Regions from separate parts of the Homo sapiens genome. Here all the other regions are linked to region 1. The links are contacts of gene promoters, found by promoter capture Hi-C in blood cells and fetal thymus (Javierre and others, 2016). All regions are on one chromosome and are shown on one strand. The core of a region is centred on a gene start or on the middle of the fragment in contact, and the rest is flanking DNA. Distances in the headings are between cores, read along the strand shown.

What was found. The method cuts DNA at HindIII sites, captures the fragments that hold promoters and counts their contacts. A CHiCAGO score of 5 or more calls a contact.
Region 2: a contact is called between a fragment that was not itself captured here and the fragment with the promoter of ZBP1 in region 1, in 1 of 17 cell types (endothelial precursors). The highest score is 8.7, in endothelial precursors.
Region 3: a fragment that was not itself captured here is called in contact with the fragment with the promoter of ZBP1 in region 1 in 2 of 17 cell types (M2 macrophages and endothelial precursors); the score reaches 5.1 in M2 macrophages.
Region 4: a contact is called between a fragment that was not itself captured here and the fragment with the promoter of ZBP1 in region 1, in 4 of 17 cell types (endothelial precursors, megakaryocytes, M1 macrophages and 1 more). The highest score is 12.3, in endothelial precursors.
Region 5: a fragment that was not itself captured here is called in contact with the fragment with the promoter of ZBP1 in region 1 in 1 of 17 cell types (M1 macrophages); the score reaches 6.0 in M1 macrophages.

Annotation. Positions count from the first base shown.
Region 1 is chr20:57,618,847-57,623,556 of GRCh38, forward strand. It overlaps ZBP1 (Z-DNA binding protein 1), which reads right to left and starts at 1,580. Exons shown (of 8, transcript NM_030776.3): 1 at 1,416-1,580. The coding sequence starts at 1,449. RefSeq lists enhancers at 170-279, 1,360-1,409, 1,540-1,829. The HindIII fragment of the contact is 9,795 bases long and covers 1-4,710 here.
Region 2 is chr20:58,116,566-58,120,812 of GRCh38, forward strand. No RefSeq gene overlaps it. Among named protein-coding and RNA genes, the nearest start is that of CIMIP1, 32 kb to the right of the region's middle. The HindIII fragment of the contact is 272 bases long and covers 2,795-3,066 here.
Region 3 is chr20:58,045,837-58,050,733 of GRCh38, forward strand. No RefSeq gene overlaps it. Among named protein-coding and RNA genes, the nearest start is that of LINC01742, 44 kb to the left of the region's middle. RefSeq lists a silencer at 2,297-2,591. The HindIII fragment of the contact is 1,501 bases long and covers 1,963-3,463 here.
Region 4 is chr20:58,092,089-58,096,471 of GRCh38, forward strand. No RefSeq gene overlaps it. Among named protein-coding and RNA genes, the nearest start is that of CIMIP1, 57 kb to the right of the region's middle. The HindIII fragment of the contact is 3,746 bases long and covers 1-3,457 here.
Region 5 is chr20:57,994,249-57,998,582 of GRCh38, forward strand. LOC105372693 (a long non-coding RNA gene) reads right to left here. Exons shown (of 6, transcript XR_007067678.1): 2 at 1,734-1,924. Among named protein-coding and RNA genes, the nearest start is that of LINC01742, 7.5 kb to the right of the region's middle. The HindIII fragment of the contact is 175 bases long and covers 2,982-3,156 here.

The DNA.
Region 1 (4,710 bases), core at 330-2,829:
CTGGGATTGCAGGCGTGAGCCACTGCGCCTGGCCGCAGTTTTGATTCTGGAAGGCTGACCTTAGGGAGCCACTGCCTCGGCTCCACACACCCCAGAGGAGATGGGGGTCAGAGGTGTGGATGCAGGACAAGCACTGGCCCTGGGCTGGCCTCGACTGCTGAGTCCCAGGCTACTGTGTCTGAAAATGGGAAATTGTAAAATGGAGCAGGTGTAGGCAACAATTTGGTCACAAAAGGAAAATCAACTGGGGAGGAAGACAAGAAAAGCCAGCGAGGGCTGAGTCCGGAACCTGCGTCAGCACCCGTGAGTCCCCGAAGAGGAAGCTCCACAGGACCTCCGCGGTCAGCCCGGCTCCTGGGCCACACCCTGACATTAGCCCTCCCGGGGCACACTCTGTGTTGGTTTTTTAAAATTCTGATGGCTGATTTCCTGGGTTTGAGCTCCTAGCCCTGCCAACTACTAGCTGTGTGACCTCCCCTCCGGCTTCAGGTTCCTCTTCTGTGAAATGGAGACAGTAATAACTACTTCAAAGATTGTGGTGAGGATTAAAAACAAAACAAACACATCCCCCAAACCGCAAAACCACACTTCACCTACAGTCCACAGCGCTTAGTGGAGACCCTAGAGAACAGCAATTACTCGATACACTATTGGCTTTCATTGCAACTCTTCCAGGAATAAAATGAATGAAATGTTAGTTGAGGAAAGGATGCAACAAGGGGGAACAAAGGCACACATGTATCTCATCAAAGCAAACCGCTTTGTTCTCGATATGACTGTGACATGGGTGTTCAGACGCTAACACCAGCGTTCGCCAGCTGTGTTACCCTGAGAGTGTCATTTCACCTCTCAGGGCCTCAGTTATCTATAAAATGGGAATGACATGGCACTTGTCCCTGCAGGCCATCAGGAAATGCTTGGAAAGCATGTTTCGAGGTGCCTGGGGCACAGTCAGCTGTCAAAGGGGGATGGCTATGCTGTCCCTTTCTATTTTTTTTTTTTTTTTCTGAGATGGAATCTCACTCTGTCACCCAGTCTGGAGTGCAATGGCGACATCTCAGCTCACTACAACTTCCACCTCCCGGGTTCAAGCGATTCTCCAGCCTCAGCATCCCGAGTAGCTGGGATCACAGGCATGCGCCACCATGCCCGGTTAATTTTTGTAATTTTAGTAGAGATGGGGTTTCGCCATGTTGGCCAGGCTAGTGTCAAACTCCTGAGCTTAAACAGTCCACCTACCTCGCCTCCCAAAGTGCTGGGATTACAGGCGTGAGCCACCACGCCCAGCTGGTCTACTATTCTTTAGGATACTGCTATTGTCATCATGATCTGGACCAAGCGAAACAGGAGGAAAGAGAAGTAGAAATCTCACCCCGGGAGCTACCGCTGGTCCTTGGAAGGAAGAAGTACTGTACCTTCTCTGCCCGGGTCAGCAGGAGCCTGGGCCATGCTGACAGCAGCTGCAAGGAGTCGGAGAGACTTGGCAGGTGTGCAGGCTTCTGCACTGTGGCCCTGAGAGGGTGGGCTAGGTCGAGGCTGGGGCTTCTGAAGTGGCCGAGCCTGGTGCTTCTTGCAGCTCTGAACCCACAAGGGGAGGGATGCCAGCTTCCACTGGGCAGGTGTCAGCTGCTTACAGCCCGGAAATAGATGCCTAGCCAGGCCGGCCAGATTCGGTTTCAGGAGAAAAAGAAAATGAAACTTCTCTGTTCGTCTTTTGAAAGAAAAAAAAAGTGGAAGCCAGGTGGATGAGCAAGACAGAGTTGGGGACCTGACTTGATGTTGACAGGGAGGAGCTGTAAACTTGGCAAGACCAGAGCGTCCTCCGAAGAGGCCTTTGAGACAGAGGACTTCCCTCACCTTCCCCGTTCCAGGCACAGCCCACCTGGACCTCTACATTTTTATTTTCTGAATCAGCATCAGAGAACTGAAGAAAATAAAAATAAAAAAAAGAGCATGCACCACGTGGAGGGGGATGCCAGGGCGTGGCATCACTCTGATGATGTGAGGGGCTGGGGCTGGTTATCTGGTTTCTGTGTTTTTGTTTGTTTTTGAGACAGGGTTTCTGTCATCCAGGCTGGAGTGCAGTGGCGTGATCACGGCTCACGGCAGCCTCGACCTTCCGGACTCCAGCGATCCTCCCACCTCTCAGCCTCCCTAGTAGCTGGGACCACAGGCCTAGACCACCATGCCCGGCTAATTTTTGTATTTTCTGTAGAGATGGGGTTTCATCGTGTTGCCCAGGCTGGTCTCAAACTCCTGGGCTCAAGCGATCTGCCTGCCTTGGCCTCCCACAGTGCTGGGATTCCAGCCGCAAGCCCCCACGCCCGGCCCCGCTGGTTCCTGTAGTACTTCCTCCTCGGGGACTCACAGGTGCTACAGAGGCACCGTCCCCAGCTCTCAGTGGCTTTTCTTGTCTTCTTCCAGTTTGTTTCCCTTGCCCACACTAGGGGCAGAACATTTAGGTGCGTGAAGGCCCTGAGATTGTTCTTGTGTGTATCCATGTGAGCCTCTTTAATGAACACCTATTATGCGTTTTCCAATCTCAAGTGCTCCTCCAACCCATCTACAGGGTAGGGGCCAGTTCTGTCTTCTTCTCAGGGGGGAAACTGAGGCTAGAAAGGCAAGATCACTTGTCCAAGGCCACACAGAGTCCATGACAGAGCTTGTCCTGTCCATTCCCCAATTGTGTTTCCTGATCTATAACACCCAGAAGTCACTGGTGAATCACCCTTAGTGCACAGATGGCGTGGAGTTCCCCGCCTCATCATAAAACTTGCTTATTAATTCCAGAGTCAGATGCCTGGGGTCAGCAGCCGAGTGGTTCGGAATGCAAGCCTGGGTCAGCATGCTTGGGTCCAAACCTGGCTCCGCCATTTACCGGCTGTGTGACCTCGGACAAATTATTTAACCCCTCTGTGCCTCAGTTTCCCCATGTGTAAAAGGACTTAATCAAAGGACCTAGCGCATGGGGTCGAGGTGAGGACCTAAGGGGCTGATACAGCCCAGCTGTCGGGCTAGAGCCCCAGAGCCATCCGTAGTCACGGGCACCGTGGTCACCTCACAGGAATGCTTCTGGGAGAGGACCCGTTGCTTACATAATTCTCAAAAGGGCCAGTGACCTCAGAAAAACTCAGAGCCACTGTTCTCTTCCAGATCACAGAAGGAGGAACTGAGGCCCACAGAGGTGAATGCTGTGTACAAGGCCCCCCAGCTTTTGGCAGCCAAGGGGGTTGAGAGCTCAGCCCTGGAAGTCCCTGGACTTGGGGTCTGTGTCTCATCTGCAGAGGGCTGGGAGGGCTAGAGACGTCTGTGCTCCTTGCAGACCCCATTTATGCATAAGGAGCAGCTTAGCGGCAAATACAAATGGAAAGGGGGTCCGGAGGTTTATCCTGAAGCTATCTGTCTTTGCAGAGCGAGCACCTGGAGCCCAGGTCTTCCGCCCTGCCTGCATGTTAAGTGTTTGAAGCAAAAAAAAAGTCTCAATGCCCAGGCCGGCCCAGACTAGTCAACTCCAACCTCTGCGGCTGGGGCCCGAGGGTGAGATTTTTTATGCTCCTGGGTGACTTTTCCTGCTTCCAGGTGGAGAACCAGTAAGTCTGGGGCAAGTCAATAACAGCAAACTGCAGGATGCTTTTATTCTCCTTTTATGTAAAAGCGAAAACTGCAGGTATCACCCTATGAAATAACAATAGTGCTCTTTAAATGGGGGGGTAGGTGGGGTGCTGAGGGAGATGATGAAGGTGCCCTCCGGAAGGGGCTCCGGCTGAGCCCTGCAAGGCTGAGTCCCTTGGGTGTCTGGGGTGCCACGCCCGAACTGGCCACCAGGTGATGCCGCTCACCAACCTGGGCTTGGGCGCACCTTGGCTTCAAGTTCCCTCTGATCTGCAGGGAGGAGCTCCTACCCCAACCCATGGTTGGACTCCAGACTTGATGAATCACAGCTCCAAGACGTGCCCACCCCTCCCACTGCCTTGTCCTGCATCATCCTTTATTCTTCCTGTCTCTTCAGTCACTCATCGTGGTTTCTTCACTCATCTTTCCTGGAAGGAGTCAGATTCCAGCTGTTTCTCTGTGAAGCCTCCAGGCAGTTCTTTGTGCTCTTCCGGCCTGGCCTCCCAGTGTTGGTCTTGACACAGCCCACCACTCCCCCGTGGGGAAACTCTCTCTCCCCCCATCTCCAGGGCCCATGCTAGCTTCTCCCCTTCCTTCCCTGGCCTCTGCAGCTCAGGCCTTGACCCCAGGTCCCTGGTGGGCTTGCAGGTCAGGTTGAGGGATGTTAGCTTGGTCTTGGGTGCCAGCCTTACTTCTAGGAAGATGGCTTCTGCTGCAGGGAGGAGGCTGGTGCCCCTCACGGCTGGTCTCCATCCAGACTGTGCTTGGATGACCCCTTTCTGTCCCCGTGGCCACATCCTGAAGGCACATGGAGCCCCTCTGGGCCTGAGCCATTTTTAGGAGTCTGTAGCAGGGACCACCATGCCAGTGGAGACCAAGCGCCTCGGGAAGTTCCCTGGACAAGGATTCTGTCTTGTCTCTTCTCCAGGGCAGGTTCTCCTTCCCAGCTGTGTGGCGCTACCTCTCTGAGCCGCGGTTTCTTTAACTATAAAGCAGAGATACTAAGAAAAAGCATTTTTGACACTTAGTATGTGCTCACAACATTTGCATAAGTTAGAAAACATGATGCATCTCCACAGTATCTCTTTAGACAGCAAA
Region 2 (4,247 bases), core at 1,681-4,180, 500 kb after region 1:
TCTAGCTTTCCTGTCTCACCTACAGGTGGGAGAAACAGTTGCGAAGGTCACAGGCCAGACACAGGACCCCTGGAAGACTGAGATTTAATCTGAAGATTATATAGAACACTCCCCTTTTCCCGCAATTTACCACCTCACCAACAGGGTTCCAGTATAACAGCAGTGAATTACAGCTGAAAGGGCTCCAAGAAGCAGTACTCTCTCTGAGGAGGGCTTGGAGAAGTTCAAAGTCAAGAGTGGGGAAAAAATAAAGACCTAAAGAAATTTGAAATCTCTGGCACCTACAGATATAGCAAACATTAAACACAGACCAACTCTAAGTAAAATTAACATAAATCCTCACACTAATGGCCTACTTAGCTCAATTCCTGCTACCTGATACACCATGTCTGGTTTCAACAAAAAATTTAAAAGGACACCCAAAAGGAAGAAAGAAAAAACACACAGCCTGAAGAGACACGGCAAACATCAGAATCAGACTCAAATATGACACAGATGTTGAAATTATCAGACAGGGAGTTTCAAATAACTATGATTAATACATTAAGGACTCTATTGGGAAAAAGTAGAAAACATGCAAAAACGGATTGATAATGTAACCAGAGAAATAAAAATTCTAAGAAATAATCAAAAGGAAATGCTAACATTTCTAACAGAAATGAAGACTGCCTTAGATGCACTCATCTGTAGACTGGACGAGGCTGTGGAGAGAATTAGTGAGCCTGAAGATACATCGATAGAAACTTCCCAAACCGAAATGCAAAGAGAAAACAAAATAATAATAGAAACAAAACAGAATACCCATGAAGTGTGGGAACATTTCAGAAGATGTAAGGTACATGCAATTAAAATGCAAGGAGAAAAAAGAGAATGGGGGACAATATTTGAGGTAGTAATAGCCAAGAACTTTCCAAAATTAATGGCATTTATCAAACTACAGGCCCAGGAGGTTCAGAGAACACCAAAAAGTTACATCTAAGCATATCATATGCAAACTGCAGAAAACCAGAGATGAAGAGAAAATTTTGAAAGAAGGCAGAGATGGGGAAAACCTTACCTCTAGAGGAAGAAGGATAGAATTGTAAGCAGACTTCTCATCAGAAACTATGCAAGGAAGAATAGTCAAGTGAAATATTTAAAGTGTTGAATGGGGAAAAGACAACTTAGACTTCCATATCCAGCTAAAATATCCTTCAAAAGTGAAGGAGAAATAAAGACTTTTGTAAATAAAAACTGAGGGAATGTGTTGCTCTCAGACCTGCTCTGCAAGAAATTTTCTTTAGTCAGAAGAAAAATGACAGATGTCAGAAAGCTGGATATACGTTTTTAAAAAAATCATCAGAGAAGACAAATGAAAATAAAATCTTTTATTTTTCTTATTCTTCATTAATCTAAACAATAACAGATTGTTTAAAGTAATAATATCTTAGTCTGCCTAGGCTACCATGACAAAATACCACAAACTGGGTGTCTTAAACAACAGAAATTTATTTTCTTGCAGTTCTGGAGACTTGAAAGCCCAGCATCAAGTTCCAGCTGACTCATTTTCTGGTAAGGACTCTTCTTATTCTTACTAGGAAATGCCAGAAGCAGGAAGCTTCTTGTCCTCACATGGCCTGACCTTGGTGCATTCATGTGGAGAGAGAGAAAGGAGAGGAGCTTTCTGGAATTTCTTCTTGTAAGGACACCAGTCCTATCAGATCAGAGACCCATCTTTATGACCTTATTTAAGCTGAATTGCCTCCTTCTAGGCCCTACCTACCTAAAAACACAATCACAATGGCGGTTAGGGTTCCAACATATGAATTTGAGGGGACACAATTCAATAGCAAATAATAACATTGTGTTGGGGGATTATAGCATATGGATAAGTGAAATGAATGAAAACAATGCCACAAGAGATAGGAGGAAGGAATTAGGAATATTCTGATATGAAATAGCTGCATTACACATGAAGTGTAAATGTATTATTTTAAGACGGACTTAAATTAGTTAAAAATGTATATAGCAAACTCTACGGCAACCACTAAAAACTGTTTTTAAAGAAGCATAGTTAATACACTAAGTGAGGAGATAAAATGGAATCATATGAAAGGCTAAATTAAAACCAGAGAGGCAGAAAACATTGCTTCTGGCAACAAATAGAAAGCAGTTACAAACATGGTTGATATTAATCAATGTATGTATCAATAAGCACTTTAAATGTGAATGGTCTAATTACACCAATTAAAAGGCAGAGATTGTCAGAATGAATAAAAAACAAGACTCAACTACACATTGTCTATCGGAAACAAAGTTTAAATATAAAGACTCTGATAAGTTAAGAGTAAGGAAGTAGAGAAAAATATACCGTGCAAACCAAGAAAGCCAGAGCAGCTATAATAATTTTAGACAAAGTAGACTTCAGAAGATGGAAAATTATCAGGGATTAAAAATGAATATTATATAATCATAAAGGGGTCAATTCTCCAAGAAGATATGATAATCCTAAATATGCAACTAGCAACAGAGCTTCAAAATACGTGAGTCAAAAACAGATAGAAGTGAAAGTAGTCACAGACAAATCCACTGTTATAGCTAGAGATTTCAACACTGTCATGTCAGTTATTGATAGCTCAAGCAGGAGGAAAATCAATAATGATGTAGTTGACATAAATAGCACTATCAGTCAACTTGATCTGATTGACATATACAGAATACTCCATCCAACAAAAGCCAAATACACATTCTTCTCAAGCTTACATGGAACATGCACCAAGATAGAAAATTTTCTTGCCCATAACACACCTTAAAAAGCTTAAAAGAACATAAATCATATAAAATATGCTTCCACAATGAAATTAAACTGCAAATCCATACTAGAAAGATAGCTTGAAAATTCCCCAAATGTTTGGAACACATGTCAAAGAAGTCTCAAGATAAATTAAGAAATATTTTGAACTAAGTGAAAATGAAAGTACAACCTATCTAAATTTGTGAGATGCAGCAAAGGTAGTGCTTAGAGGAAAAATTATAGCATTACATGTAGATTTTAGAAAAGAAAAAAGATTTGAAATTGATAACCCAAGCTTACATCATAGGAAATTATAGGAAGAATTTAAGCAAATTAGGCCTAAAGCAAGCAGAGGAAAAGAAATAACAAAAATTAGGGCAAAAGTCTATGAAAATTTAAACAGAAAAGCAACAGAGAAAAGCAGTGAAACCAAAAGCTGGTTCTTTGAAAAGATGAACAAAATTGATAGATTTCTAGCCTAGCTAATCAAGAAAAAAGAGAGAGACACACACACACACACAAATTGCCAACATTAGAAATGAAACAAGGGTCATCACTACTGATCCCACGGACATTGAAAAGATGTTAAAGGAATACTACAAACAACTCTATGTCAGTGCCCCTCATTTTAATCATTTAGATGAAATAACCAATTGATGGAAAGACATGGACTACCAAAATTCCCACAAGTAGAAGGAGACCAGCTAAATAGCCCAATATCTATCTAATTAATTGAATCAATAGTTAATAACCTTCTTAAAATGTAATCACCAGGAGCAGATGACTTTACCGATGAGTCTTACCAAACATTTAAGGAAAAAAAATAAAAATTCTCTATGCTCTCATTTAGAAAACAGAATCATCATGCCCGTAATCCCAGTGCTTTGGAAAGCCAAGGTGGGAGGACTGCTTGAGGCCAGGAGTTTGAGACAGCCTGGGTAAGAGAGGGAGACCCCATCTGTACCAAAAAAAAAAAAAAAAAAAATTTCAATTTAAAAAAATAGAGTAGAAATCAGAGAAAACACTTCTTGATTCATTCTATAAGTCCAGAATTACCCTGACATCAAAACCATAGAAAGATATTACAAAAAGTAAAGATGCACACCAATCTATCTGATGAATATAGATTAGAATCTTCAATAAAAGTGTCTTTGTTCACAAATGACATAATTATTGATGTATAAAAACTCCAAAAACTGTGCACAAACATTAGAAAATTGAATCCAACAATGTATTTTTAAAATTATGCCCCAGGTCCAAGTGGAATTTATTCCAGATATTCAAGGCTGGTTCAACACTCAAATATCAATTAATGTAATCCACCACCATGACTGGCAAAAGGGGAACAATTATGTAATATAATCAAATGATCCAGAAAAGCATTTGACAATATCCAATGTCCATGATAAAGTTTCTCAGCAAACTAAGAATAGAGGAAAACTTTGTCAACTTAATAAAAAAACAGGCTGGGCAT
Region 3 (4,897 bases), core at 1,463-3,962, 430 kb after region 1:
TGCTAATGTGCGGGCTCATATTAGCACCTATGGTCCTAGATAATGCAGAGTCCAGTGCCATTATTTTTCATACTTTGTGCTTATTTTTCCGGCCAGACCAGGAAAGCTGTTTGACACCTACACAATGAGGAGCAAGAAATTCAGACCTTCCTCCTCCTGAGGCCCCATTTCCTTCCCTCTGGGGTTGTTGTGAAGATGGGATTCGATCATGAATATAACATTCACTGCCGTGAGTGGAACAGTTATTGAAATTGTCTACCAGTAGCTTTAACTAGCAGCATTAATACTACTATTAATCACGGAAGCCAGCCTTTATTAAGCACTTACTGTATTCCAGGCACTGTTCTGAGTGCTTTCCAGAGAGTAATGCATTTCACCCTCACCACTCTGGAAGGGAGGTGCAATAATTATCCTTGTCTCATAGATGAGGAAACTGAGACACACAGGGGAGAAGTCACTTTCCCAGAGTCACATAGCCGCCAGACCACAGAGCCAAGCCAGCCTGACCCAGCACGTGCTGCAGAAGCTGCTGCTGGATTTTGTCTGCACAAAAGCCCCATGGGCAGATAGGATTCATCTTACTTCGTGCCTCAGTGGCTGAATCTATAAAACGAAACTGAATGACTTGGCCAAAGTCACCCCAGCTCAGAGGTGGCAGAGATAGGATGGGAATCCAGGCCTTGACTCCTCCTGCAGTGCCCAACCCCCACCACACATGACTTCTCTCACACCTTGTACACTGCAGGTATTTGGCCAGTACCTGGGAGACATTTCTGATTTTTTTTCCACGGCATGTCCATTTTGATCACATTTTCTTCTACATGTGGGAACAAAACTAGACACAACTTTGCTGAAAGTCTGAGCTAGCCTTACTTTTACCTGCAGCTGAGAAAGTTAGCTTCTTCCCTCACCAAGGCTAAAAGGGCAAGAGATGACACACCCAGCAAGAAAACCGAAAATAACAAAATCAGTCAATGTGGAACAAACATTACTCCCCGGCAACTGGGGCCAGGTATTTATGCTGCGATGAGACAAAGGCAGACTCTTTCTCCTTAGATTTTAGCACTTGCTTCCAAAACAGCAGAGGGCCCTGCAGGGGAACCAGCGGAGGATGGATGGCATCTGGCATTGATTGGTAGCCAGGCTGAATAATACATCAAGGGTCTGTGACTTCATCACAAAAGCCTGGCGGGCTGGCCTCCTGCAAACCAGACTCCCCAGGGACTGGGCCTCACCAGGTGTCTTCAATTAGAAATACAGTGGGAGCAATGCTTCTGAACCGATTCTGAAAGGCAGGCTCCCGGGCTGAGAGACGGAGTGAAGGGACATGCTCAAGGTTCCTTCCCCTCCATGCCTCATAGTGGGCCCTGCCCTGGGGATAAGCCTCCTACAGCCCCTCGTGAGCTCCATCCACTGCCAAAGATGAGTCAAATAGCAAGATAAGGCTGCCTCCTTTTTTTTTTTTTTTTTGAGACAGAGTCTTGCTCTGTCGCCCAGGCTGGAGTGGAGTGGTGCAATCTCGGCTCACTGCAAGCCCCGCCTCCCGGGTTCATGCCATTCTCCTGCCTCAGCCTCCCAAATAGCTGGGACTACAGGCGCCAGCCAACACGCCTGGCTTTTTTTTTTTTTTGTATTTTTAGTAGAGACGGGGTTTCACCATGTTAGCCGGGATGGTCTCCATCTCCTGACCTCATGATCCACTCGCCTCAGCCTCCCAAAGTGCTGGGATTACAGGCGTGAGCCACCGCGCCTGGCTAATTTTTTTTTTTTTTTTGTATTTTCAGTAGAGATGGGGTTTCACCGTGTTAGCCAGGATGGTCTCGATCTCCAAGATAAGGCTGCCTCCTAAGCCTCGCATCTGTTGTCTGTAAGAGAGCCACGGCTGTGCAGGAAGGAGGGATGAGGCGGTGGAGTCCTGGGTGTCAGGTCCTGTACTACAGGCCGAGCACAGGGAGAGGAGCAAGCTTTCCTCCTTCCCCTCCTTTCTTTCTCCCTTGAACATTTGCTGAAGTGTCACCTATGTTCCAGATGTTGTGCTAGGAAGCAAAATACAGCACCAAACAAGATAAGCATGGTCACTGCCCTGCTCCCAAGGAAGGATGCTTTGGAAGGCCTTTCACTGAATATCTGTCCTCACCTACTCTGTGCCACTCACAGGCTTGGTTGAGGATCAAACTCTTTTTGCAGAAGAGGAAAGGGAGACTCCAAGAGGGGCAATGCTCTGTCCCTAGATCTGTGACCTTGGGCAAGTGGTAGTTTGGACTGAGCATTCCTAAGCTATATCCAGGGCACCCCATGCTTCCTGGCCTCATGTTTAGCTCCTTGTGAGAGGGTCAGGTCGCCCACTAGCAGATGAACTCCTTGCTCATCCTTGTGTTCCAAGCAGAAACTAACACAAAACCAGACAACCTGGAATGAAGACAAGAAACCCTTGGCCTGCTGGGTCATGAAGCTATTTCTGGCTGCTGTCCATGGTACTGGCAAGAAGCATGAAGCCTGCCAATGTCAGGTGGTTAGAGCCCTCTTGGGAAGCTAAAAGATTCTTATCGTCCAATTCATGCTTTTCACAGCCTCCTTGGTTTTTCACTGGGTCTTTCCAACAAGTCTTACCTGTCTCCTCTCTCAACTCCCGGTGAGCTTTTCTGTTGGCCAGTGGATGCCTTGTATTAGATGTTTGTCTTTTTTTTTTTTTTCTGGTCTCCTGTTATTTTCCCAAGTCATTCTTAACCTTGGAAGCAGAGAACACTCACAACCAGCTGTACTTGGTGTTGCATATTAAATAATCTTTGTTTTGATTCATGTGTTAAAGTCCTTTATCCATTCTCTTGCATTACAGAGACCCCAGTCTTAACACATATTTCTTACATCATGTTTCCCAAATGTCAGTCACCCACATACCTCCCACATGATTTTTGCCATACTCTTACACCACCTATCATTCTATGCCAAATATATTTCCTAAAATCAACCCTTTTAAAAGTTTTAGTAGGTCTTATTTTTTAGAGCAGTTTTAGATTTACAGAAAAACCGAACAGAAAGTACAGAGAGTTCTCATATACCTCCTCCCTGCACACATTTTCCCTATTATTAACATCTTGCATTTGTTTGGTACATGTGGTACACTTGATGAACCAAGACTAATACATTATCATTAACTAATGCCTACAGTTTTCTTGAAGGTTCACTCTGTGTTGTACCGTTCTATGGGTTAACAAATTCATGTCATATATCCATCATTACAGTATCTTACAGAATAGTTTCACCACCCTAAAAATGCTCTCTGTTCACTCATTCATTCCTACCCCCTACCCTTGAACCCCTGGCAACCACTAATATTTTTATTGTCTCCATAGTTTTGCCTTCCCAGAATGTCATAGAGTCAGAATCACATAGTATGTAGCCTTTTCAGACTGGCTTCCTCCACTCACTTTTTTAAAACATACATACATTTATTTAAAAGGGAAGCTTGATATAATCATCAAAAATGGATATTCAGATTCATTTACCATGAATAAAAGGAAATCATAGAAGTAGCAGCAGGAATGGAAACTTCTCTATTCCATGAAACTCATGACAAAAACTGGCAAAAATTCCGGAATCAACTTTTTCAGAATTCTGGAAATTAACCAAAGGCTTGAAGCAATCTAGATTGCATGCATTCAGGAAGAAAGGCTGAATTTCAGTAAGAACAGGGAGCTTCATGGCATTTTAACTTTCCGTATTTCCATCCCCTTCTCTTCTGCTCTGAGTTAGCCTTGAAATCAGGTTGAAATCAGCCCTGCAATCAGGGTAAAAACCGGTGGCCTGACAGCTACTGTAGGGGACAAAACAAGATTGTAGCCCCTTCAAACCTCATTCCCAGAGAACTGTTACGACTTGACTTGTCTGGTGGGTCCCTGGAGAACTCTACTTGCAAGGTTGTCTTGCCTTCTGACCAAGATCAGTGGTTGCCAGAGGTTCAAAGGTAGGGGGTAGGAATGAATGAAGAGCATTCTTAGGGTCGTGAAACTATTGTGTAAGATACTGTAATGATGAATAACTGACATGTATTTGCCAACCCATAGCAAGTAAACTGTAGGTCTTACTTGAATTTTGCCCACTTTGAAAAGTCTAAGCATTTGCTGAAAACAATTAAAAGTAACTGCTTAGCTTTCTGACTGCCTAAGATGGTGAGCAACAGTTGGGAAAAGTGTGGGCTAACCAAAAAATTTAAAAAGAAAAAACTGGCAAATAAGATGTCCGTAGGGGCTTTGCAAAGTTCCAACATATTCCTGAGAATCTAGAAAGCCCCGTGCATGTGTAGGGCTGTAGGCATGCTCAGGAGAGACTTGAGAAGGCTCTGTGCTCTCAATTCTGTATGACCTGAGGGTCTACGCAAGTAGAAAGTGAAAGTTAGGGCAGAGTTGCCAATTTCCTGACCAAGTATTGAAAGTATGCCCAGCATGCACACAGAGTACTGTGGCAAAAATTGGGAGACTTATTAGTCCAGGCATTTGAGGAAATGTCTGTCCACTCTTGAGCTCCCCAGTAAGCTAACTGAGCAGACATTTCAGTGGCCACCCATGAAAAACAATGTAACACACCATATTATAGAATTAAGGGGGAAAATCACCTGATCTTTTCAGTAGATACAGAAAACGTATCTGATAAAATTGAGACAAAATACTCCTGTCAAGACAAAAATACTTGTCAAGACAAAAATACTCAACACACTTTAAATAGTAGGAAACTTCTTCAACTGGATAAAGGGCACCTATGAAAAAGTCTAAGCTAATATGATACTTAATCGTGAAAGACTGGGTGCTTTCCCCATAAGATCAGGAACAAGACAAGGATGTCTACTTTTGCCATTGCAATTGTACTGGAGGTTCTAGCAAGCAATTAGACCAAAAAAATG
Region 4 (4,383 bases), core at 335-2,834, 470 kb after region 1:
TCGCCTGTCCCAACGTTGTTCCATAGAGTGTAAAAAGCAGCCCAGCAGTGTGAAAAACAGCCCCCAAACTCCCAGGAGTGTGAAAAGCAGCCCCCAGACTCCCAGGACTGTGAAAAGCAGCCCCAAAAGGCCGTATCCATATCCTAACCCCTGCAGCTGTGAATGACAGCTGATTTGGAAGTAGGCTTTTTGGAGATGTGAACAACTCTTTGGAGAAGTCCTTTGGATTTAGGGTGTTCTTATAAGAAAAGGGAGATTTGAAACACAGACACAGAGAGAAGAAGGCCATGTGAAGATGCAGAGATTGGCCACCAGCCACTGGGAGAGAGGTGCGGAGAAAACTCTGCCTCTGAGGCTTGAGAGAATTGACCCTGCCAATGCCTTGATTTCTAGCTTCCAGGTTTCAGGACCGTGCGAGAATAAATTCTGTTGTTTAAGTCACCCAGCAACCCTGGGAAACAAACACCTCAACTGGATTAGAAGCAAACTGAGGACACTAACTCCTGCCTTTTTATAAACCACCCTCTCCCAAGCACCTAACATTCTCCAGGGGATGCAGGAAGAGCTGAATAAAGGCCTAAAGGTGAACTGAGTCAAGCTAAGTTCCAGTTTCCATAACACCCCGAGACCTCAGGATTGGGCAAAAGAAAGGCAATGTCACCACCTTGGTGACCTGGCTCACAGCAGGATTTGCTGGAAATTAATCACTCAGGATCAGGGAATGATGCCCATGAAGCTAAGGTACCAGGAGGGAGTGGCGTTGTGGCGAGTGCCACTGCCTGCCTCTCCCGTGAAAGGAAGACTCGGTGAAGTAAGAGGCACTGGGCAGCCTGCTCGGGTGAACAGGTGAGCATCGGCCTGGGGAAGGGCCTGCAGCTGGGGGTGGGGGTGGTGAGCTCAAGTTCTGGCAAGGCTGTGCCAACATGGTACTGGGCAAGTTAGAAGGACACGGTGGCCCTCTCACCACCATGGGTACATGGACAGCAGGCTCCTCTCTTTAGAATTGAGGATGGAGAGGAAGCCAGAGCTCAGCAGGCCCATGGAGAGCAGGGGAGGTAAGACGTGGAGTCAACGCCCCTTTCTGGCTGCCCCTTTCTGGCAAAATCGCCTCCAAGCAGGAGGTGACGGCTGAGCCCATTTGTCGGACAACTCAGAAATGGTTTATTTGTACACGGCCTTCAAATGTGCATCCCAATGCCAGATGCACCCAAATGATCATCATTCCTTGCTAGTGGGGGCTCTCAAACTTGACCTTGCATCCACATCACGGACTCGCCCAGAGGACTTGTTAAAACACGGATGGCCGAGGCCTAACCCCAGAGCTTCTGATCCAGCAGGTTTGGATGGTACCTAGATGGTCTCCATTTTTTTTCTTTTTTTTTTGTTAGTTTTTATTTTTATTTTAAGTTTCAGGGTACATGTGCAGGATGTGCAGGTTTGTTACATAGGTAAACGTGTGCCACGGTGGTTTGCCGCACCTATCAACCCACCACCTAGGTATTAAGCCCCGCATGCATTAGCTATTTTTTTCTAATGCTCTCCCTCCCCAAACCCTACCTTCCAACAGGCCCCAGTGTGTGTTGTTCCCCTCCCTGTGTCCACGTGTTCTCATTGATCAGCTCCCACTTATGAGTAAGAACATGCAGTATTTGGTTTTCTGTTCCTGTGTTAGTGTGCTGAGGACAGTGGCATCCAGCTTCATCCGTGTGCCTGCAAAGGACATGATCTCATTCCTTTTTATGGTTGTATAGTATTCTATGGCATGTATGTACCACATTTTCATTATCCAGTTTATCATTTGGATTGATTCCATGTCTTTGCTATTGCGAATAGTGCTGCAGTAAACATACGTGTGAATGTATCTTTATAATAGAATGATTTATATTCCTTTGGGTATATACCCAATAATGGGATTGCTGGGTCAAATGGTATTTCCTGTTCTAGATCTTTGAGGCATCGCCACACTGCCTTTTGCAATAGTTGAGCTAATTTACCTTCTCACCAACAGTGTAAAAGCTATTTCTCCGCAACCTCCAGCATCTGTTGTTTCTTGACTTTTTAATAATCACCATGCTGACTGGCATGAGGTGGGACCTCACTGGGTTTTGATTTGCATTTCTCTAATGGAGATCTCCATTTCTAGCAGGCTCCCAGGTGGGGCCGCTGCTGCCACTGTGGGGACCACACTTTGAGCAGCCGGTATAGGGATTTTGACTGAGCCTCAGGCCGCAGTGAGGCCACATTTGCCCTGCGTGAGCTGCTGCTCGGGAAGACGGGGGCTTCATACCTCAGTGAGGTGTCCCTCACTCCACAAACCTTGGCTGGACAATTGCTACGTGCCAGAAACTGCTCTGCCCTGGGGATGTGGAGATGAGTGGGGCGTCCTTGTGCATCCCCGCTCCCCAGCCACAGCCTAGAAGGGGCTCCCTGTGACTACTCCTGTCCCTCTCAGATCACTCTTGGAGTTGTAGCCAGGGTGATCTTTGAAAACACCAAATCCTGCCACATCACCTGTCCCACTACCCTCAGCCTAGGAGCTGGGAACTGACCAGTTCCCCCTGTGCTATAAATGAGAGCACGTCGCTCAAATTCCAGTTATTTCCTCCAATTACGTCCTCCCCCAACACCTCTGATGTCTTGCCAGGACTCTGAGGGGCTGACAGGCAGCAGAGGAGGTGGGAGGCCCAAGGGCAGTGGGGAGCAGAGGCCCTGGATCTAAGGTGACCTCATTTCAGCACTGAGTCCTCACCCAGGATTCCCCTGGGAAAACTGAGACTCTTGGCCACCCTACCTGGTTGCTCCTACTTCCTGAGTGATTTGGCCTCAGCTTCATGGCCGATAAACAAGAACAGAGAGGGGCATATGGGAGCATTTACACACGTGTTCTGGAGCCAGGTCCAAGCTGTGGGACCAGGATGAGCTGCCTGGCTTTTCTGTGTCTCGGTTTCTTCACCTGCAGAATGGGCATGACAATAGTTCCTGCCTCAGAGGAGTGCTTTAAGAATCCAATGATAAAATGTATGAAAAAATGCTTTAAACTGTATATGGCAGGTGGTGCATTGGCTACTATAAAATTAATTATTTCTTTAAACATGCATCTAAAATGGCTCAAGCCCTCATTTTTCTAGTAATGAGAATGAAGGGCATTTAAAGTCATTTCAGTTGAATCCAAAAAGAACCTCTGCTAATATACTGCTTACAACAAACACTCTTAGAATCAAATACCATGCCCACCAAAGACTGAATATACCGAGGTTTGCAAAAAAGATATGTAAAGATACATGCATGTGTAGTGTGTTGGGAGGGGTGGGGGAGAACTCAAAGAAGCAGCCGTGAAAAAAATGACTGGAAATACTAAGCAATCGAATTCAAGATATAAACATTACAAAGAGGCTTATTTCACATTTACATACACAAGAGCTAGCTAGTATTCACAATGATGGTATAATAGCCATGAAGCTTTATGCATTAAGTAATACAGTGCTAAAATATGTAAAGCAAATTGTCTGAAATGTCATTAAGCTTAAGTATTTCTTCCTGAAGAAACCCTTCCAGGATCCCTCAAGGGCTCTACAGGGGACTCCACTTGTCTTATCACAACATTTATGGTTAGTATTTGTCATCATTCGCTTAACTACCTCTCCACCGCCCTCACTAGAATTGAAGCCCTGAAAGCCTCAGTCTGTCTTGTTTATTTGTTGTGTGCTCTACAACCCATGTGCATGCAATAAATATTTGTTGACTGCATGACAATTAGATATATATTCAACTCTATATCCCTGAAACAGAAAACACACTTTTTTTTTCAAATATTCATGGATGTTTACAAAAATCCATCATATACATTTGGTCAAAGGAAAATTTTAATAAATGTCTAAATGAAGAAATTGTATAGAGAATGTAACATTCTCTGACCTTATAGCAAAAGAATAAACAAAAAAAACCCAACAAAAATCTCCAACCTGCTGAAATTAAAAATTACTTTATGAAATAGCTTCAGTCAAACAAGAAACCAAAATTGAAATTAGATTATTTATAAAGTAAAATATAAACAACAACAATCCACATAAAAATGTATGAGATGTGGCTAAGTCTATACTTGGAGGGAAAAAAAATGAGAGATTGAAATGTTTTCATATTTAAAAAACAAATAACTAAACTAAATGAAAGAAGCAGTCAAAGCTAGAACTAAAAAGAACTAAAAAAAGAACAAAATAAACCAAAGACAGCAGAAGGAGGGAATTAATAGAGATAAAATAAAAGTTTATTAGAAAACAGAACAAAACATAGAATTTATAATGATATTCAAGAGCTTGTTTTCTGAAAGACAAACAAAGTAGACATGGAAGTGGAAATTTTAATTTAAACATATAAATAGTCTCA
Region 5 (4,334 bases), core at 1,819-4,318, 380 kb after region 1:
CCTCTGTTTCCACATGTGAAAAATGCTTGTGAGGATGAAAGGCAAGAAGGTGGAGGCCAAGAGCTCAGCACGGTGCCCGGCACAGAGCGGTTGCCAATAAACAAATCATAATCATAGCCATTAATGGGGCCAAGTCCCAGCTAGGGTGCCCTGAGGCCTCCCCCTCCCTCTGTGGCCAGGTGGTACGGTTGCCAGATTGAGCAAACAAAAATACAGGACACTCAGTTAAAATCGAATTTCAGATAGACAATGAATCATCTTTTTTTAGTATCCATATGCCCCTAAATATTTCATGGGACATACTGATACTAAAAAGTTATTTATTTTTTATTTGAAATTCAAATTTAGCCAGGCATCCTGTGTTTTTTCTGGCAACCCTACAGGGTGAGCTTAGGTGCAGCCATAGATGAAAGAAGGGATTTCAATGTCAGTGATGGCTGAGTCGAGTGGTCAAATTAACTAAAGGAACCTATGTTCTGTGCACTCAAATTAAAATTTCTGATCTATGAACTCCAACTCTCAAAGCTTAAACGGGGGGGAAAAAAGCCTCCTTTAGTCGATAAGCAAACTAATGAAATGACAGAAGACTGGACAAGAGTGTCCCGTTCCCCAGCTTCAGCAGCAGTTTCCTGAAGGCCCCCACGCCCTCTCATCCCATTTTGCAAAAGAGGAGATCGAGGCTCCAGCAGGTGAAGAGAGTTGCTGGGCTAGCATGTGGCTGCAGTCCAGGTCTGTCTGACACATGAGCCAATAACCGTCACCAGGAGACCCCACTGCCTCTCACTGCTTAAAAAGGTCCCCCCTGGCAGGCCACAGACCACCCCCAACTTTTGTGGAGGGGAGAAAATACTACTGAACATCAGGTGAGAGCAAGTTTCCCAACCTCTTTGTGCCTCACCTTTTCCCTCTGCAGAATAGGAATAATTATTCTACCATCTCGATAGCATTTTTGGATGACTTGGTAATTTAATGTACATTAAGGACCCAGATGCTAATTGTGAGTAGACAAATGCCATTTATTAGACTTATCGTAATGAAGACAGTAAGGTTTCATTGTTAAAATATCAGCCGTGAAACACATCAGAACGAGTTCAGCCCTGGATTCACCTCTTTACCAATCTTGGGATGTTTCTAAACCTCTCTGAGCCTCCATTTGTTCATCCATAAAATGGGAACCTCATGGAGCCTCCCTCTCGCAATTGTCCGGCGTGGAATGGAGTAGCACAGGTGAGCACTCAAGTGCAGGCTATTTGTATTTCAACAGGCAGAGAGGATTGGGGTGAGAGCCAGTGGCCTCTCTCGGGGCCCCTGAATCCTGGCCACACAGAGTGGGCCTCTCCTCCGCAACCCCCCTCCACCCGACCAACAATGGAGCTGTCACAAGCCCACATCTGCTGCTGGGTAGAGATTTTTCTCTCAGGATTCCTGGAGGGGCCCTTCCAAGGGCCACAGCCCTTCTTGTTTATATGCCGAGAACAATGAAGACCTAGAAGCCAAGTTTGCAACTGGGTCTGGAGGAAAATGGTTGTCTCTCCAATAAATCCACGTGCATCATTGTTAATGACCCTGGACCACACAGCCCACCCACAGGGCCTGCCCATTAGAGGTCAGACAATGGCTAATGAGATTGCCATCCCTGATTAAGCCAGGAGGCAATGCTTCTTTAATTCTACACACAGCCAGGAGGCAGGGCCTCAGCCTCTCTCTTACTGGGACTTCCCATTTCCTCTTACCAGTTCTGCCATCCATGGCTTTCTGGATTCACCAAAACTTCAGGTTCCTCAAGGGACACAGATGTGTCAAGTGCATTTTCTGGCTTGAGGGACTGTGTGTTTCATAGACATCTTTCCAGTTTCATAGCCATTTTGCCCAGGAGTGTCATCAGCTGAGATTCAAGATTCATTGATGCTTGGCTGAGAAATCCCTGGGAGATAAGAAAGTCAGGTTCACACTGGATGCATGGAACTGGAAGCACACTGCAGAGGGGAATGTGAGTGCTATTTGCAGTCCCTCTTCTGGGCCAAAATTTGGCTTAGGGCTTCCCCTACCCTCCCTCGGCCTCTATAGCCTGTGAGATAGATATTAGCACCTCCTTTTGCCAAGGAAGAAATCATGGCTCTGAGAAATGACATGGTGCACGCAAGGTCACACAGCAAGCAAGTGGAGTGGAGGGCGTGAGTCCATCTGTCTATATGCCAAGCTTGTGTTTTTTCCCACTACACATGATTTGTTCACATTCGGCTCATACCAGTGCTTGAAGCCCACTGCAGAACCAAGCCCCAGGACTCACATGTGGCTTCCTTAATGCCCATGTGGCAGTTCCAGTGCCGTCAAATCCCTCTAACCCGAAGCAGTTAAAACTGATGATTTAATGACCCACTGGTACATCCACTTACTAATCTTTGTGAGCACACCAAGGTGTTTTTATTTCTGCTGTTTGGAGTTGCATAGTAATCTTTTACATAAACCACACCCATTTTTACAGTCACCAGCATTTATAGTTTCCAATCCTTTAAAGTGAAGTAAAAATTAAAGGGCACTTACAAAGATATCTGAATGCAGAATCCTTCATTGTTTGTGTATTTTTTCATCTTTACAGTAGTTTCTTCCTCACTGCATTGTTCAGCATATTTTTTAGGAACTCATATTTTTCAAGTCATTCCACAGCATTTGACTTATTTTTCACAGAAGCAACTATTCTCTTGCTTTCACACTCATAGTTTTTTAGTTTATATAGTAAGTAATTCAGTTGAATTTTGAAATTAAAGTTACAAATATAACTGGCATTAGAAGGCATGGGAACAATCCACAGACTCTTGTTAATCAAATGACTCATTGAATGAAGGCAGATGTGGGAGAGCTCACTGAGGTGTCACTGACCAGCCTCCAACTTTCAGAGCACTGTGGGCGGCCACAGAATGTTTACAGTGGCAGGGGAGAGCACTGGTTAGTGGCTCAGTGATGTGAAGACAGGTGAAGAAAGCTTCTATTCTACTATCTCAATGGTGGTAACAGTAGCAGTGGTGACTGCAGTGATTTCTCAGTATTTAGTGTGAGTGCCACGTATTACTATCCATCCTCACTACAATGCCTAGAAATTACTGTATTTGCAGTCTAAAGATTAGCTAGTATATAAGTCACTCAATTTTACCAGGAAGCTTTTCTGAAAGATATTATCTACTACCCCAGACTAGCCAAGTCTTCTTGGAGAACTGCCAAGTAGCCAGGAAGACTGGTTTGGAGATGCCTCTTCTTTCTGCTGTTCTTGAAGCTTGCACAGTTTCTTACCCAAGGGGAGCAGGGGAGGAAAGGGACAAGTTGCTGAGAGTTATTCCATCCATTGGTTTATGGTGGACTTGATGGTGTCACACAAGGAGGCATCTGAGAAACAGAAAATGAATCTTCTATACTGGCAAATACAAGATTTTCCCCTCTGTTTTAAGATGAGGAAGCAGACTCAGAAGTGAAGTGACTTGGCCAAGGTCACATAGCCTGTAACTGGAAAAGCTGAGATTTCAACTTAGGTCTATTTAACTCCAAATCCCATGTGCTTTCCATTGAACAACTGTTGCCATTGAGCTGGGTTGGGCTGAGTTGAGTTAGTTTGAGTTGAGGTGAGTTGGGTTGGGCTGGCTAGAATTGGGTTGGCTTGATTTGGGTGGGTTGGTTGGAGTGGGTTGGGTTGAGCTGAATTGACTTGGTTTAAGTTGAGGTGAGTTGGGTTGGGTTGGCTAGAGTTGAGTTGGTTTGAGTTGGGTAGGGCTGGGTTGGATTAGGTTGGGTTGGGTTAAGTTGGTTTGAGGTGGGGAGGGTTGGGCTGGGTGGGTTAGGTTAGGTTGAGTTTGCATGGGTTGCATTGGTAGCACTGAATCACACTAAGCCCTTTGCTGTGTAGTCTTGGTCCCAAAACAGAGGGCGAAAAAATGTCTCTTTTATAGTCTTTCAGCAACCTGAGGGCAGAAAGGGGGATCAATACAAAAGAAACAGACAGGAATCATATATGATTCATTGTTGAATTCTGGTGGGATTGCCCAAGTAAATCATGCCCTGGGCAAACCAGCAGAGTAAAAGGCACCTTACAGAGCTGTGTGTGGGGAGGGGGCCCTTCTGTCACATTGCCCAGAAGATATGGATCCAACTATCCTCATGGTCAGAGATCACAGAGGCCCCAGCCCAGTTCTAATCCCTTCATGTGAAAATCACGTGACACAGCCCCAAGCCTAGCAGAGGTTCCTGGAGAACAGCGTCTCCTTGAGCACCGGCTGGGTACTCCATGCTGCTCGCCTCCTCTCTCTGTCTCTAAACCCACGTCAGCTCTCTTCAGGAGGTATGGT